6 separate regions of the Homo sapiens genome follow, and regions 1, 2, 3, 4 and 5 are each linked to region 6. The links are contacts of gene promoters, found by promoter capture Hi-C in blood cells and fetal thymus (Javierre and others, 2016). All regions are on one chromosome and are shown on one strand. The core of a region is centred on a gene start or on the middle of the fragment in contact, and the rest is flanking DNA. Distances in the headings are between cores, read along the strand shown.

Evidence for each region. The method cuts DNA at HindIII sites, captures the fragments that hold promoters and counts their contacts. A CHiCAGO score of 5 or more calls a contact.
Region 1: a contact is called between the fragment with the promoter of HINT1 here and the fragment with the promoter of CHSY3 in region 6, in 2 of 17 cell types (megakaryocytes and erythroblasts). The highest score is 6.8, in megakaryocytes.
Region 2: a contact is called between a fragment that was not itself captured here and the fragment with the promoter of CHSY3 in region 6, in 2 of 17 cell types (erythroblasts and megakaryocytes). The highest score is 7.5, in erythroblasts.
Region 3: a fragment that was not itself captured here is called in contact with the fragment with the promoter of CHSY3 in region 6 in 1 of 17 cell types (erythroblasts); the score reaches 9.0 in erythroblasts.
Region 4: a contact is called between a fragment that was not itself captured here and the fragment with the promoter of CHSY3 in region 6, in 1 of 17 cell types (megakaryocytes). The highest score is 5.9, in megakaryocytes.
Region 5: a contact is called between a fragment that was not itself captured here and the fragment with the promoter of CHSY3 in region 6, in 1 of 17 cell types (erythroblasts). The highest score is 5.0, in erythroblasts.

Annotation. Positions count from the first base shown.
Region 1 is chr5:131,163,999-131,166,698 of GRCh38, forward strand. It overlaps HINT1 (histidine triad nucleotide binding protein 1), which reads right to left and starts at 1,258. Exons shown (of 3, transcript NM_005340.7): 1 at 1,097-1,258. The coding sequence starts at 1,207. RefSeq lists enhancers at 1-647, 648-1,307, 1,578-1,627 and silencers at 438-1,077, 1,288-1,367, 1,378-1,427. The HindIII fragment of the contact is 11,885 bases long and covers 1-2,700 here.
Region 2 is chr5:131,381,078-131,383,777 of GRCh38, forward strand. All of the region lies in intron 3 of CDC42SE2 (CDC42 small effector 2), which reads left to right. Among named protein-coding and RNA genes, the nearest start is that of CDC42SE2, 120 kb to the left of the region's middle. The HindIII fragment of the contact is 735 bases long and covers 937-1,671 here.
Region 3 is chr5:131,264,019-131,266,718 of GRCh38, forward strand. It overlaps CDC42SE2 (CDC42 small effector 2), which reads left to right and starts at 35. Exons shown (of 5, transcript NM_001375635.1): 1 at 35-148. RefSeq lists a silencer at 1-298 and an enhancer at 497-1,314. The HindIII fragment of the contact is 696 bases long and covers 1,024-1,719 here.
Region 4 is chr5:131,434,908-131,437,607 of GRCh38, forward strand. The region is part of intron 24 of RAPGEF6 (Rap guanine nucleotide exchange factor 6); the gene reads right to left. Among named protein-coding and RNA genes, the nearest start is that of CDC42SE2, 170 kb to the left of the region's middle. The HindIII fragment of the contact is 907 bases long and covers 959-1,865 here.
Region 5 is chr5:131,076,587-131,079,354 of GRCh38, forward strand. No RefSeq gene overlaps it. Among named protein-coding and RNA genes, the nearest start is that of HINT1, 87 kb to the right of the region's middle. The HindIII fragment of the contact is 2,760 bases long and covers 1-2,749 here.
Region 6 is chr5:129,903,190-129,905,889 of GRCh38, forward strand. CHSY3 (chondroitin sulfate synthase 3) reads left to right here and starts at 1,276. Exons shown (of 3, transcript NM_175856.5): 1 at 1,276-2,442. The coding sequence starts at 1,641. It overlaps CHSY3-AS1 (CHSY3 antisense RNA 1), which reads right to left. Exons shown (of 3, transcript XR_002956248.2): 1 at 2,653-2,700. RefSeq lists a silencer at 1,434-1,643. The HindIII fragment of the contact is 4,826 bases long and covers 1-2,700 here.

The DNA of each region.
Region 1 (2,700 bases), core at 8-2,507, 1.3 Mb after region 6:
AGAAATATTTTTTCTAAAACCAAAGAATTTCCCCTGAGTAGAGACAAAGTATTTTTTTTTTTAATTTACCTAGAGGAACCTAATTAAATTTTTGATAACGTTTTGAATCTAACCGACATTAGTAGAATAAATGTTTTTCTTAGATTTTATATTTCCTAAATTTAACAAAACTGTTTACAAAATTTGTTCTATCTAAATCAGCCAATCTGCCCAGCTTTATCTGAGATCCAATCCCAAAAATACAACTGGCCACTAAATAATTTACACAAGATATCTCAAAGTCACATCAACTGGGATTTCACCTACAAGAAGTCAACAAAAACTACAGTCTTAGTCTCTTGGCATAAAATTACTTCCTGTTGAATACAAAAAGAATCATTCAGCTGTTTGTAAGTCCAAAATGTTCAGCGGGAGAGGTCAACGGAAAGCAAATCCCAGACGCGGGCCCACTTCTTATCTCAGGAGATCGCCTCGCTAGCCCAGGGTAGGCCTTGGGGTGGAGATAGGGATAGGGGTAGGGGTGAGGGTGGCAAGCCGCACCCCGCGGAGGAAGCCGGCAGGCCCAGACGGCCCGCGCACCTCCCAGCGCCCCTGGGGCCCTCGAGCACAATGCCTTGCTGAGCAGCGCCCAGGAACGCCGGGCCCTGGCAGGCCGGCTGTGCGCGGGAGATCGCGGAGATTGGGCCTGAGTCAGGGCGCGATCGGGTTTCTCTCTGTCAGGCAGAGCGCTGGCGAGATTTCGAGATTCCTGATACAGGCAAGGTCCGAGGCAGCCGGGGAACCGGCGGGCTTCCACGCGGGGGCCCCAGTGCGCCCCGACACGCGCCCAGGCCCCGCGGTGCGGCACTCAGGGCGCCCGGCGGCCTGGCCCGCGCCCGGGGCAGATAACGAGTAACCGGAGCGCCGGCACGCGCCGGCAGGCCGCCTCGGAGTGCCCGGGCCCTGTCCGCTGGCTGGGGGCCCGCTGGACCAGGGCAGCCAGGTCCCCTCCCGTCGCCGCTACACTCGCGACCCCTCCTCTCCCTCCGCGAGAAACCCGAGGATCCGCGGACGATACCCACCTCAGCAGGCGAGAGAGGTGGTGCCCAGTACCTACCCGGTCATCCTCAAAAATGATTTTGGCTGGTATTTCCTTGCGGATGATCTTCCCAAAGATCGTGTCGCCACCAGGCCGAGCGACCTGAGCCTTGGCAATCTCATCTGCCATCTCGGCCTCTCTCCCGCGCGGCGGCCAGAGGAGAGGCTCGGAAGAAGGGAGGAACCCGCAGAGCGTGCGGCGCGAGAGGGCGCAGCCAAGCCTGCGCAGGTGCCCCGGCTCTGGCGCCCCACCTAATCTTGCGCGTGCGCACTGGCGACCTGGGCTGCGAGTGCGGCCAGCGCGCTAGAGCGCCTCAGGGACCTCCGGCTTGGGGAAGTTCCTGGTCTTGAGCTCCAAGGAGATTCCTAAGTCGTTTTTCTATCCTCCTTTCTTGTCTCCTGGGGAATGCAGTTACTGGTATAAACCCTTCGTCTGCCTATGGATGCTTGTAGGGAAAGTTGGATACTGTAACTGACAAGATTTGATAATTTAAGTGGTGCTGGCTGCAACTTAGCACTTAGATTATTTAAGGTCTTGCTGCTGCAGCAGATTTTAAGTCCTCTCTTCAACAGAGTTTTTTTCTCTCTCTACCAGTGGTTCTCAATCTTGACTACACATTAAGATCACTTGGGGAGCTTTTAAAAATCCCCGTGAACCTGGCTGCAGCCCAGATCCATTAAATAAGAATCTTTGGAGATGAGCCCCAGGCATCAGTAGTTTGTAAACCTCCCTAGACTGCTCTGCAAAGAATTTTTCCCAGCAGCAATCAACATAATGTATTAATAAAATGACCCACTTTAAAAAAAAAAACCTTCCTTAATCCCACATCCCCCTCCGTATCTTTGCTCGTTTTATAAAGAAGTTTTCTACATACCATGTCTGCTTTCTTATCTTTCATTTTTGAGTCCATTTCCCTCTTGTCAAGGTCACTAAGGACATCCATTTATAAAATCCTATAGACAATTACAGTTATCATACCAGACCTCTAAGTGTACGTATTAAGAAAAAGTATACCTCCTCAATGCCTTTTTTTTTTTTAGATAGATTCTTGCTCTGTCGCCCAGGCTCGACTGCAGTGGCACAATCTCGGCTCATTGCAACCTCTGCCTCCCGAGTTCGAGTGATTCTCATGCCTCAGCCTCCCAAGTAGCTAGGACTACAGGCGCGCACCACCACACCTGGCTAATTTTTGTATTTTTAGTAGAGACAGGGTTTCCCCATGCTGGCCAGGCTGTTCTCAAACTTCTGACCTCAGGTGTTCCACCCGCCTCAGCCTCCCAAAGTGCTGGGATTACAGATGTGAGCTCAGCTGCCTTTTATGATTACATTACTACCCTTGTCTTGGCAAAATTATTGAATGTGGTTGCCTTTAATCTCAAAAGTGTCCATTTGGTACTTTTGCTATCAAAGACATTACTGGGACAATTCGTAAAATCTAAATAATGCCTATAAATTAGATAATAGTTTTGAAGTCATGTTAATTTCCTTTCATAACCACAGAAAAATTGTCAAAATCAGTTGATCTGGGGTGGGGCCCTACAAGTTAGGTTTCTAACTTTCCAGGTGATACAGTTGCTGCTGGCCCGGGAACCATACTTTAAGAACTACTGATACAAGGGAAT
Region 2 (2,700 bases), core at 54-2,553, 1.5 Mb after region 6:
TCTTTTTGGCCTTCTTTGATGGCTTCTTCTCTGCCCAACCACAGAAATTTAGTTTGTCTAGGAAATCTCATTAACTTGGCTTTGTTAATGCTGGTGATTCTCAGTCTCTTATCTCCAGTTTGGATTCTCTCAGAACCCAGTGAATTGCACACTCTCTGCTGAAATCTGAAGTCTGTGCATATTTCTTAACTCCTCCCTCTCACTGTTACCAAATCCAGCCTGCAACCAAGTGCTGTTTTTTTTTGTTTTTTTTTTTGTTTTTTTGAGAGAAGTCTCGCTCTTGTCCCCCAGGCCTGAGTGCAATGGCTCGATCTCGGCTCACTGCAACCTCCGCCTCCTGGGTTCAAACGATTCTCCTGTCTCTGCCTCCCAAGTAGCTGGGATTAAGGCACCTGCTACCACGCCTGGCTAATTTTTGTATTTTTGGTAGAGACGGGGTTTCACTGTGTTGGCCAGGCTGGTCTCGAACTCTTGACCTCAGGTGATCCACCCGCCTCGGCCTCCCAAAGTGCTGGGATTACAGGCGTGAGCCACCACATCCGGCCCAAATGCTGTTGATTTTATCCACTGACTACTTCTTGAATCTATCCACTTCTATCTGTGTTATTAGTTGAATCCACATAATCCCTTTTCACCAACATTAATAACTTATTTTGACCTCTTCTAACATGTTTTCCACCTATAGCTATTGTGGAATAGTCTTCTCAAGCTATTTAATCATGTTATTCCTCTGCTTTAAAACACTTTCAATTATTTCCCATTGTTCTTGGGAGGATCACACACTTCAGTCCTTTACAAACTCTATGTGATCTGGTTCTTGCTTATCTTACTATTTTCATCTTAGGTGTTTACCTTTACTATGCTCGCACAACACAGTTGCTCCTTTCAGTTTCTGGACAGCTGAGTTCCCTCAGCCTTGGGGAGCGAAGGACTGAAAGCTTCTTTCATATCTCACAAACTGTTAGATTAGATGCCATGAAGAAACCTTCCAATACTAAGGTGTGACTCCCAGCTCAGTATAGTTCAAGCTGAAAAATACTCACTATTATTTTCACATTCATATATATTAGTTATCTAATAACACAGTATGATAGAAGTAAGCTGAAGTCTTCCCATCCTTTGCTTTTCAGTGTCAGAGTAGCTTCTTGGGAACTAGTTTTGTTATCAGCTTTTGAATATTCTCAGTAATCATGTTTGCTGAATTATTGTTTGTGAGTATGTGTTAATACCCTTCTTTCACAAGCATATCTATTCATTCTTTTTGGGTGAGATGGGTGGTGGCCTGAGCACACTATGGTTTCTGTTCTCCCCCAACACAGTCCTGCAGTAACTCAACAGAATAAATCACTTAATATGGAGGTATAGACCAAGTGGAGCCTTTTGGCAAGCTCTAAACACACCCTTCTGGAGGAAATGATGCAGAATGAGAACTGTTAGGAGTTGCTTCTGCAGGTTCACAGGACAAGGGTTGATCAAGACTCCTCCTAGTGGTCTGGAAGTAGGTACCAGGAAGTATTCTCTGGTACCACCTCCTCCCCTGCTTGAGAGAGCCAAGTGGCTCTCTCTGCATATCAGAAGCAGTTATCTTGACATGTTTACTGCAAACGCCTGGGGAAGAGTCTGGTGTCCTGCAGATGCCACTGTCCTGTGGAACTGTGACAAGAACCTAGAAGCTTCCCTCTCTACCTGTCAGTTAAGTGGCTCACTGGGGAAGAAATCCCAATAATTTGTCCTGCCCACATGCTGAGAAAATTCGTATCCTGTGATGGTAAAGATTACATTTCTGGACCTGCCCAAATAGCTTCCTAATAAGGAAATTTAGTGGAAATGTAATAATATATTATTAAGAAGAGAAAAAGGCACAAAACTGTTAACATCTTTTTTCCCTACTTTATTCCTAAAAAAGATAAGTTAGCATTGTTTAAGGCTAATTCATAGAATTATGCTTTATCATTCCAAACAAAAATAGTATGAAGAGAAGTATGTTGAATGGGGTGGTTGGAAATAGACAAACTGAGTCTGTGAAAAAGATGGGGAACAGAGGAAAAGACCAGTGCATTGCTGGCATGCAGCACTCCAGATCAAAGGATGGTTGTGGGTGTCAAGTCTGCCATTAGGGGCAGGGAGTCTTTGTATGAGGCACCTCTAAGATCATCAGAGGGAGCAGTATGCGAGAAAAAGATAGCAGGAAACCAGTGCATTGTGCTAGGAAATAGAAAAATTAAAACACATAGACAAAAGCCTCTTTTGACTTTATGATACCATTTTAACCTGCAAGTTTTATGATTCTGTGGAACAGGGCCCCAAAAGACAGACAGTTTCTTACCAACTTTCAAAAAAAGGCTTGAAGTAAAACTAAAGTTGTTCAAATAAAGAAATGAGAGTTCTTTGTTCCCTAGTGTTATAGACTTATAATTTATATAGTTAAGTGTTTTTAGGGAAAAGAGTGAAAAACTATAATAATACAACTTTTTCAGAGATTAAAAAATGTTGCAATGACATGTCATAACAGCCTCTGAAAAATAACCATAATGGAAAAAATGAAATTATGTGGCTACTACTGAAAAAATCTAGAGCTGGGGTCAGCAGACTACTACTTTTACAGGCTAAATCTAGCCTGTCACCTGTTTTTGTAAATAAATTTTTACCATAACACAGCTATACTCATTTAATTTCATGTGCTCTGCAGCTGCTTTCATG
Region 3 (2,700 bases), core at 122-2,621, 1.4 Mb after region 6:
ACCCGCGCGCGAGCCTGGGCGGGGAGGGGGAGCCAGGAAGCTGCGAGCGCGCTGGGGAGCGCAGCTGCAGGCGTTGGGGCGGCAGGAGCCGCGGAGCCGGCGCTGAGAGGGGCTGCGGCCGGAGCGGGCGGCTGAGACAAAGGCGACGGTGAGTGCAATGCCAGCCCCAGTCGCGCGTCGGCCGCCACGCCTCGCCCTCTCGGTCCCTTGGGCGGGGTCCCGAAGCCCCGAACCCTCGTCCCTGAGGGCTCTGGGGTGAGCGCGGCCCGGCCTTGCCAGCCGCGCGCTGCGGGCTGTGGGCTGAGCCTGCGTCTTCCATTTCAGGTTTGGGCGAGGTCCTCATGCCCTAGGACCCTGCCTTTGGTTTTTCTTCTGTTTCCTCTGAGGAATGGTTACACGCTCAGTTCAGAATTCACGGCAGGCGGACAGCTGAGGCAGCCAACTGACCGCCTGATGTAAAATGGAAAGGCAGACCCCCCCCCTCCCCCCAACTTTTCACGTCTGGAAGTCGGGAGGGTGGTGCGAGGGGCGGGCGGGGAGGGCCCGGGGTCTCTAGGTGAGGGTTTCGGGGAGCAAAGACACCTGGCTCCGGAGCTCCGACTCTTCGCCTGAGGCGCCCGACGCGTTCAGTCCGCGGGTCCTGCCGCGGTTCGCCCCGGGCCCCGGGCTTGAAAGCCCTTGGCTACCTCGTCGCGGGAGCTGAGCTACTCTTACAGGTTGTTTTACCCAGTGCTTGCAGCTTTAAGTTGCGATTTTAGGCAACGGGTGTGGTAGGTAGCGGCTCCTTGATGCCGCATTAACAGCTGAAAAAGCGCCCCGATCCGCTGACTTCACTATGTGTAAGAAACAACATTGGGGATTCCTCTTTAGCTTGCAATTATTTTAAATGATAAGCTTTTTTAGGGGAATTTTGGGGGGTGATGTGCAGTTTACAAAATCTAAATGTTTCGTTGAAGGGCCTGGCTTATAGTACGTGCTCAGTAAAGTATTTGTTGAATGAATGAATCTTGAAATATCAGACAAAGCTTATCTCACATCTAGTAAAATTTAGGCACATACTCCTTGATTATGATTAAGGAAAGAATGTCGGCAAACAGTATGTATTTTTGATATACGTTTTTTAGTTTTTGTCCCACATAACATACTGTTGATGAACAGTCCGTTCTTACTCTCAATATTATGAACATAGAAAATATATATCAAATTTGGATTTTCTCTTTTGGTTTGAGAGAAGTTGGTATACATTTTCTGTTTCTTAAAAACAGGCCTTATTTCTAATCTTTAAAAATAATGGAGAAGATAAAGAGGGAGTGGGATTGTATTTTGAAACCCAGCTTTCTGTTTCATTATGAATAAAGGAGTTTATGTGTTTTTGAGAAGGGACTGTGGTATGGTCTTGCTGCTTTTTGAGCAAGGGAGAACTCTAAATTTAGGGGGGGAAAAGCTAATGTTGCACTAATATAATAAAATGTCACCATTTACTCAACAGATATTCATTAAGCACCTGTTTATGGGCACAGGCAAAATCCGCAATTATCCTTTTCTTAAACTTGAATGCAAAGTTATTTCCTTATTATTGATGTCGCAAGTGGTGACTGTCTTAAACCCCTAGTGGCTATTTCAGTTGGGAAAGATGGCAGGTGAACTGCAGGAAGTGTAAATTCATAACAGCCTTTAAAGGTTAATAAGTAACTTTGTACAGCTAAAATTATTGGGTTAAGCTTTTATATTGTCAGTTTAATAGAATCTGTCTACATTTTAAAATGAAGGGAGGAAGACATTTAATAAGCTAGTGTTTTTATTATCTCCCTGGTCCCTATTAGGAGACTTTGGTACAGTGTATTGAAGGGTAATGTACTTCTGGTCCTGTTTTCTGTAAATAATCTTTGTAATAACATTTTCTGTTTTTAAAAATCCCCAGAGATAAACAGTAGATTCCTTTTCTATAAGAAATGTTTTAAAATAAAGCTTCATTTCAGGAATTTTATTTTGTCCTTGTGTTCACCACTTACAAATAAATGCATATAAACTTGATAGTGCTAAAAAGGGAAGGATTATTAGTAATAATTTGTGGTTCCATATGTGGACTTATCTTTTAGTATTGCAACTGTGATAAAACTACTAATTTAAAAGGATGAGATTTGTAGTTTTGCATTTATTCTGAACATAAGGTTGCGTTGCCTATTTTAATCTATTTATATATGTTTAAAAAGCAGTAATATTTTATTTATTTCAGGAATCCAGACTAATGTGATCCAAAGTCTGTCTTGATTATTATGAAATAATGTAGATATTAATTTTTTTATAGTTAGCTTTTTTGTATTTAAGTGGGCTGTTTTGACTGTTAATGCTTATAATACTTAATACATTGTTAAAGATAATGTTTACATTCAAATAGAAGTTTCAGATTTTGGACTTACCGGCTATTAGCTTTTTTTTTTCTTTTTTTTTTTTTTTTCGAGACGAAGTCTCGCTCTGTCACCCAGGCTAGAGTGCAGCGGTGTGATCTCGGCTTACTGCAACCTCCGCCTTTGGGGCTCGAGCTATTCTCATGCCTCAGCCTCCCATGTAGCTGGGATTACAGACATGCGCCACTATGCCCTATTTTTTGTATTTTCAAAAAGAGACGGGGTTTCTCTGTGTTGGCCAGGCTGGTCTCGAACTCCTGGTCTCAAGTGATCTGCCCGCCTCGGCCTCCCA
Region 4 (2,700 bases), core at 162-2,661, 1.5 Mb after region 6:
AAAATATCTTCTTGCTCACAGAGGAAAGTAGGGTTTAGTAGATATGTGACCTTTGGACCAATACCTAGAAATGTCATTAGGAAGAATTACAGGCTTTGGGTATGTTACTGGAATTCTCAGGGCCTCATCTTCATGCAGAAAGAGGATGACAACATCCTTAGTTCCAAGTCTTTCTCTGTTTATGGATCTTGGAGTTATTCACATATAACTCAAGTCATTTAAGGAATAATTTGTTGCACAGTAATCTTATTAAGTCGTTTCGTTAACTATTTCAAAGAGAAAAAGGCCTAGAAAATGTGTGATTTATATTTGGCCTACGTGGACAGGAACAGGGTAAGCCAAGACAAGCCAGTCTTCTGACGTCTATCATACATCTCTGAACTTGGGATCACTGCTATTTGTCAATGTCCATGAGCTGATTAGTCAATTTTTAAGAGGACCAAGAAAGTGGATGTAATAAGTAAATTAAAAATAAATAAAAACCTTCTTCTTGAAAAGAAAAAGTCATTGCTCTACACAATAATCTTGCTTCATTGTTTAAAAAATAATTTCATTCTTATGTCTATTTGATCAGTATTTCTCAAATATAATAATACTAAGAACCACCTGGCAAGCCAATTAAAATAAACATTCCAGATCCCATTTCTGGCAATTCAAGTTTATGAAGTCTGGGGTGGGACACAGTAATTGCATTTTTTAACAAGTTTCCCAGATGATTCTGATATTGCTATGTTAGACTAGTCCCTTCTCCCCCAATCAAAGATACGTAAAAAGTAGAAGATAAAAAAGCCTCCTCTACATATTTCACTCACAGATCCAGCTAACAGTAGGAAATAAAGTCAACTACAGAAAACAAGAGTATAAAATTTACTAACTCAATACATCAGTAAAATAACTTATGTACAAATGAGGCATTTTCAAGTGTTTATAAATAGTATTTTACTAAGTTGTCTGCCTAAGCTTTGACAAATGGTTTAATTTAAGCCATGTATACATTAATAACTGAAAACAAACTTAACACTAAAATTAAATAAGGAACTTCATCAGAGTGTCTTCCTCCTTTTAGACTTGAATCGCGTATAGAAGCAGTTTAAAGTGTTACTGTTGCCTTGGCTATTTGAATTGAAGATGGCACTCCCTTTCTCATCTTTGATGTTGCTTCCAACATCCTTCACTTTCTCACAGCTTTCTGTAGCTTGATTGTGATCTGTGTCCTCTTTTTGGCTGTTGACTAGTCTCTCCCTTGAAAGCATTCTTTCCCTAAGTCTTCTAAACGGGGATGTCATTCTTTTTCTGGTTGTGTTCTCACAACTTGTCCTGTCTCTATTCTCCTCAGTGGCCTTCTCAGTACTGTCTGTTCTTTTGGCTGTGCTCCTGGTAATCTGAAGGATTTTCTTTTGCAAGTAAGCCCCACCTATTCCGGGGCAGCTCTGGCCACTGATCTTGCTGCTGTGATCAGATATGATACTGCCAACTGGAGGGAGAGATGCAAAAACCCTGACATGGTCAATCACAATTAGCCTTGTTTACATAATATTTCACTATTTAAAAATTCTAACATCTTGATAATATCTGAAAAATTGAAATCTAGCAACATATTTTTTAATGCATGGAAAAAAATCTACTTATATATAAAACATATACACATCAGTTATTGCAAGACAGAATGCAGGAGAAAGATTACCTTTATCAGCACAAGCTGGTGATAAAAATAAAAACAAAAACAAAAACAAAAAAACTGTTGAAAGGAAGCCAAGCTGGTAAAATCATAAGGAAAAATATGACAAAAATATCAGGTAACTAGAATTATTTCTGTAAAGTAACTATGTAGGTCTAGAATTGTAAGGTAGATTTTACTATGAAGAAGCTTAGTAAAAACCAAATAAGACATATAAATAGTACATACAATAGGTATATTTATAACGTTCATTTTCTGATCCTGTTGTAGATCCAAGGTGGAGAGTGCTTTTCTTAAACACTAGGGTAGATAATGTTTAAGGTCTTTTGACTTCTTTTTTAAAGTTCTTGTTTAAACTATCCTCATGCAAAACATGAAGACAGGTTTATTTTCTTAATCATAAGAAAACAAAGAACAGATCTCCAAGTTTAATAAGAACCAGGAACAGATCCTAATAATTTACTCTGAGCATAATGACAGTTTTGTTCAATCATAGGTTACTGGCAAAAACCTGTCTACAAAAATAGAAGGATCATACTTGGTTGGGGTTTTGATAGTACACATGCAAGAACAAGCTGAAACAGTTTTGAAGAGAAGAATTTCTTCAGGCTTCTAAGAATTCTAAACATTACTACGAGAAGCTCACAAACCTATAAACATGGTGTTCAATTGTTGGCTACAATTTTCTCACAAAGGGAGAAAATACTTCTCTATTCGAGTGTTGAGTGTAGATTTTGTTGGGAATAAGAGCAATGGAGGAATTCCTGTTTCTAATACCACTTTCCAGAAGTCACATTCAGGCATAAAATACCAAATCAGCTATAATGGGATGGACCACTGAGCAGCCTCTAACAGGGGTAAGGAGTGTAAAGGTGTTCCTGAACGAGCATTAGGAGCATATGGATACTGTTCATTTGGACCATCTGTCTGACTGGAGGCACTGCGGCTTATCCTACATCGCAAGATCTGGTAAGGGGCGCATTGGATAGGACCATACAGACAAGGAAAGTGATGACATAGGT
Region 5 (2,768 bases), core at 120-2,619, 1.2 Mb after region 6:
AGCTTTATTGAAATACTGGGCAGCTTTTCTTCTCCCTTTTCCAAGAGAGACTGATATTTCTAAGTCCTTGTTTTATGGAGAGATCTAAGGGTTAGGCCCCAGCTTTGTGAGGTTCTAACAACACATCTTCTGTCCAGGAGGGTGTGATAAAATTGTAGCCTCTCATTTCCAAAGCCTGTATTTGGGTCCTCCAACCACATGGGTAGCCAGAGAGACAGCTCCTGCACTTTTCATTCCAACTATCTTTTCCCTATTCATTTCCTTGGGAATTATATTTATTTGTTTTTAGCTTTGCTATGGATTTAATTTTTTATTGTAGTTTTTCAAACATTTCTATGTGATTGTAGTGAGTCCATGCTAGTATAATCAGCCAATTTAGTCCTACAGCTGTCTTCCTATCTGCTAGTTTGAATTTTTTACAATGTCAAACATCACCTATACCAACCCCTTACATTTATAGGCTCAGCAATTGAAGCTCAAAAAAGTTAAGTGTCTTGCCAAATCATACCAAAATTTAGTAACAGAAACCAAATAAACCTACACATCTAGGTTTTTTTCCTCATCCTACAAATTTAGTACTTATTGTCATGTAGATTAAAAGACCAAGTTTCTATCCAGATGTTTCAAGGTAATATATTGAAGAAGTTGAGCACGTTGGGAAGCTATATTAATTTATACATATCACTAGCATGCCAAGTAACATATTATCTCTGTAGGGCAACTGACCGCACCTTGAAAATGAAAATAGATAATGAGGCTTGGTTTGTAACCAACTTTTCAATAATTTTGATTTTCTTAACACTAAATATGAGATCCTTTGTTTAATTTTTTTCAACTTCTATTATCACTTTCAGTTTCTATTTAGTGTGAAAGCTAAGAAGAAAAAAAGACAACCCTTTTTCATCAAGCATAATCATTCTATGAAATAAAATGCTCTCATAGAATATCATGTTAATTTTGCTTAAACCTACAAATAGGTTTTAGAACATCTGTTCACCATAATTAGGTTGACTGAATATCAAAATTACCAAATTTCTTTCCATTCTTTTATTCTATACCCATGAATGTACTAAGGCTTTCAGGACAAAAATGCGAGAGAGGGGTGGTTTTTTGTTGTTGCTGTTTTTATACTTTACACTTTTATTTTTTTACCCAGACAGAATATATAAAGTCATACATTGGTGGTGACTCTTCATTCATTCATTTGATAACTCTGTATTACATTTTCTACTATATATCATTTGTTTTATAATCTGCCAATGTTAGAAATCACTTTCGTCTTTAGTCACAATTAGATGGACACTTCAGACTCTAAGAGCCGGAAACAGGTATACCATCCCTTTATATCCTCTCCGACACAATGCCAAAAAAATACTCAAATGTTTGCTTGCCCTCTGCTATAGGTAGGACTGCTTACTGCCAGAGTTCTCTGGGTCCCCAACCTAGAAGAGCTCAACTGGTTATAAAAACAATGAGAGAGATTTGCTTAAAATCTTAGTCAAGCCATGTGGTCACAACCAGGTAAAGGGCTTCAGGGACACAAGGCATTTTGGCAATGTTAATTTTTGTTAGGTTAGGTTAGGTTAATGTTATGTCTCCTTGGGCAGACATGATGAGTCTATGTTCTAATCCTATTACAACATTTAGTAAAAGTTTAATGGTTATATCCTATCACAAATTTGTTACCTAATTTGAGGCACTAATGGATAGGGCTCTTTTATTTTCTTATTTTTCAATAGATCAAAGTCAAGCCAGTACAACATACAAAAAAAAATGCTAGGATTCAGCAAGATTTATATTTCTCCATTTTAGTGTTGTTTATCTTCTGGGAAAGGGACACACAAACCTTGGTTTAATAAGTTACAATAATAGGCAAATTAAAAATAATAAACAACAGTCACAGTCTGTTAATTATACCTGCTTCAGGGAAAACAGTAGAATTATTTCATGAGTGACTAAAAATCTTTAAGCTCTTATGAAGGATTTGACAAAAGATTCTCATAACCAGGGTAATCATAATTTATCATCACAACCAGGGGGCTGTGGGAGTGAAGGGAGTTTGTGCTGGGAACACTGGCATAAACTAGGACTATTCTGATCAAACCAGGACATAATCACTTTACTGTGCATTAAAACAAATAACTGGGGTTACGATAGAGGCCCTGCCCTCACAAAATTCAAAGGCATAGGTCATTAGATGTCACCATGGTGCAATATGGTAAGTAATAAGATAAAGGAATTGTAGAGAAGGGGCTAAGGACCCAAAAACCCTGTGTTGGGGGTCAGGGGTAATAAAAGAAAACCATGTGTCATCCAATAGTTCCAGAACCCTGTTTATTATCAGAATCACTTAGGGAACTTATTGGAGAATACAGATTCCTGCCTGCCCCCATCCCCTGCCAGAGTCTCATTTAATGGGGGAATGGTATCCCAGGGAGAGGAAATAGCATATACAGAGAGTCTGAGGGAAATGAACACCTATCCAATTCTGGGACTTGAAGGCATCAATTATAGTCTCAAAGCCTCGTTTACTCTTCATATTTATGTCCTAATAGCATACACAACCATAATGTGGATACTCTGGATGTTACTAATATTAACAGGCAAGTGATTAAACGCTAGACTAGTAGTCAAATGATAATTCTTATTCTGAATTGTCCATAGACTACTGCTTTTATGTTAAGGATTTTATTTTCTTTTCCTTTAAAGCAGGCCTGTTGACTTACAAATTCCAGTCTGACATGTAAAAAGCTTTGAACTTATCAATC
Region 6 (2,700 bases), core at 26-2,525:
CCCTTCTTCAAAAATCATATACCTTCAGGTAATTTCTTCCTAACGTAACTAAGGCACAATGATTTTGGCCAATACAGCTTAACTTTTTTTGAGATTCTGTTGCTGGACAATTTTCCTCCCTCATTGGAGAGGTAAAATTTTCCTGTCTTTGCCTTAGAAAATAAAACGGTTCATAGGCAAGAATAAAAATCATATCCTCCATTTTATTTTTTGATTAAGTTCACTTATTTTGTGGGGGTAAGAATTTCTTTCGTTTGGATCTTCAGGGTATTGGCCCTGTGAATGTGTGCCCATTTCTCCACTATTTGCCAGTCCCACTGAGCCAATCTTCTACCAAGACTGAAAATAGACCATAGTTCTCATTTCTTGAACAGATATCATCAGGAGAGCCGAGGGGGAGACCATTAGGCAGCCCCACATTTTCCAACTCAACAGGTGGAGGACATGGGATTTTTACGTTCTTTGGGGATTGAACCCCCACACACCACCAACTCCCTTAGCCTTTCAGGATAAGTATTTCCAATCCCTCAGAGATTTTCTTAGGAGAGACCCTAACGACAATGGTGCTTCTGTGAAGGACTGAGGAGAGCTGGTGGACGATGCAGGTAGGAGGGAAGTTAGGCTGGGAGGAGAGGTGCTGGGATGGGACGTTTGGTTTCCTGACAAGTGACCGACTAGAGAGAGAAGGCGCGGAGTGGCAGCGGTAAGAACAACGTGGAAAGGACGGAAAACGCGAAGAGTGGCGCCCTGGCGGACCTGGGGCGGGGCAGAGTGGTAAGGGTCACGCCAGGACGTACCCGGCTGTGGGCCGGGGGAGGAGAGCACGGTGGGACAGCAACGAACTTGCTGGGGGCTCCCGGACCCGAGCTCCGCCGATGAGGTCAGCGGAGCCTAGGCGCCGGGAGGAGGCCAGTAGAGCCCCCAGACACGAGTGTCGGGAGGCCAGCGGAGGGGCGGGACGGGACGGGAAATGGGACGAAGAGCAAGAGCTGGGGGAGGAGGGAAGAGGGGGCGTCGGCGCTGCAAGCCGGAGGCGGCCCGACAGGGATCGTTTCCTTCCGGAGAGGAGGCCGGCTCTGGACTGAGGCGCGGACGGGGGGCGTCCAAGGGCGGGTGACGGGGAAATACCGCGGCCCGCGCTTCTCTCCGGCTGGCAGCGGTGCCGCCTGCGGCTCCTCCTCCGGGCCAGCTCGGAGCCCGGCGGCGGGGGGAGCGGGAGGCGGGAGTGAGGGCGGGGGCTCGGGAAGGAGGGAGGAGGGAGGGCCCAGGCGCGCCACTGACAGGGTGGCAGCCTAGGAGCGGACGCGTTGCCGCCGCCGCTGCTCCTCCTCCTCCTCCTGCAGCTCCTCCAGCTGCCGCTGCTGCCGCCGCTGCCGCCACCGCCGCCGCCGGGAGAAGTTTCACTCCCGACCCTTGCTCGGAGCCCCGGCCCAGAGCTGAGCGGGAGCCCGGCAGGCAGCTGCAGCCCGCGGCAGTCGAGGCGTCCGCGGCGCTTCGACCTCCAGCCGGTGTCGGCGCCTAGGCGGCCGGCTGCGGCCGCGGCTGGGGGCGCAAAGGCGGAGGAGGGGCGGGTGTGAGCCGGGGAAACCGCGTGCCGCGCCGCGACAGCCCAGCGAGCGTCCGCGCCCGGGACAGCCGCGATGGCTGTGCGCTCTCGCCGCCCGTGGATGAGCGTGGCATTAGGGCTGGTGCTGGGCTTCACCGCCGCGTCCTGGCTCATCGCCCCCAGGGTGGCGGAGCTGAGCGAGAGGAAGAGACGTGGCTCCAGCCTCTGCTCCTACTACGGTCGCTCTGCTGCTGGCCCCCGCGCCGGCGCTCAGCAGCCGCTCCCCCAGCCCCAGTCCCGACCACGGCAGGAGCAGTCGCCGCCCCCCGCGCGCCAGGATCTCCAGGGGCCACCGCTGCCCGAGGCAGCACCCGGGATCACCAGTTTTCGAAGCAGCCCCTGGCAGCAGCCACCTCCGCTGCAGCAGCGGCGGCGAGGACGCGAGCCTGAGGGCGCGACGGGGCTTCCCGGTGCTCCAGCGGCCGAGGGGGAGCCCGAGGAGGAGGACGGGGGCGCGGCTGGGCAGCGGAGAGACGGCCGGCCGGGGAGTAGCCACAACGGCAGCGGGGACGGGGGCGCTGCCGCCCCGAGCGCCCGACCCCGGGACTTCCTGTACGTGGGGGTGATGACCGCGCAGAAGTACCTGGGCAGCCGCGCGCTGGCCGCGCAGCGGACCTGGGCGCGTTTCATCCCGGGCCGCGTGGAGTTCTTTTCCAGCCAGCAGCCCCCCAACGCCGGCCAGCCCCCGCCACCCCTGCCTGTCATCGCGCTACCGGGTGTGGACGACTCCTATCCTCCCCAGAAAAAGTCCTTCATGATGATCAAGTACATGCACGACCACTACCTGGACAAGTATGAGTGGTTCATGCGCGCCGACGACGATGTCTACATCAAAGGTGACCTCCCTGCGCCGGCTTTCCAGCCTGCCAGTCTCCCCGACTCCTTTCTCTGTAACCGGTCCTAGCCCCTGCCCAGCCCCTCCGCTGCTTCTCTGCCAGCACGTGCTTCGGGCTCCCACAGGCCCTGGCCCGCCCTCCCCACCCCTTGCATCCGCCCACAATTCGTAGCCCGTTCCTCGTCTTCTGCAATCTGGACCCTCCTCACACCTGCCTGGCTTTATTCGCCTTCCTCACTTGCTGTTTTCGGTGCCGCCT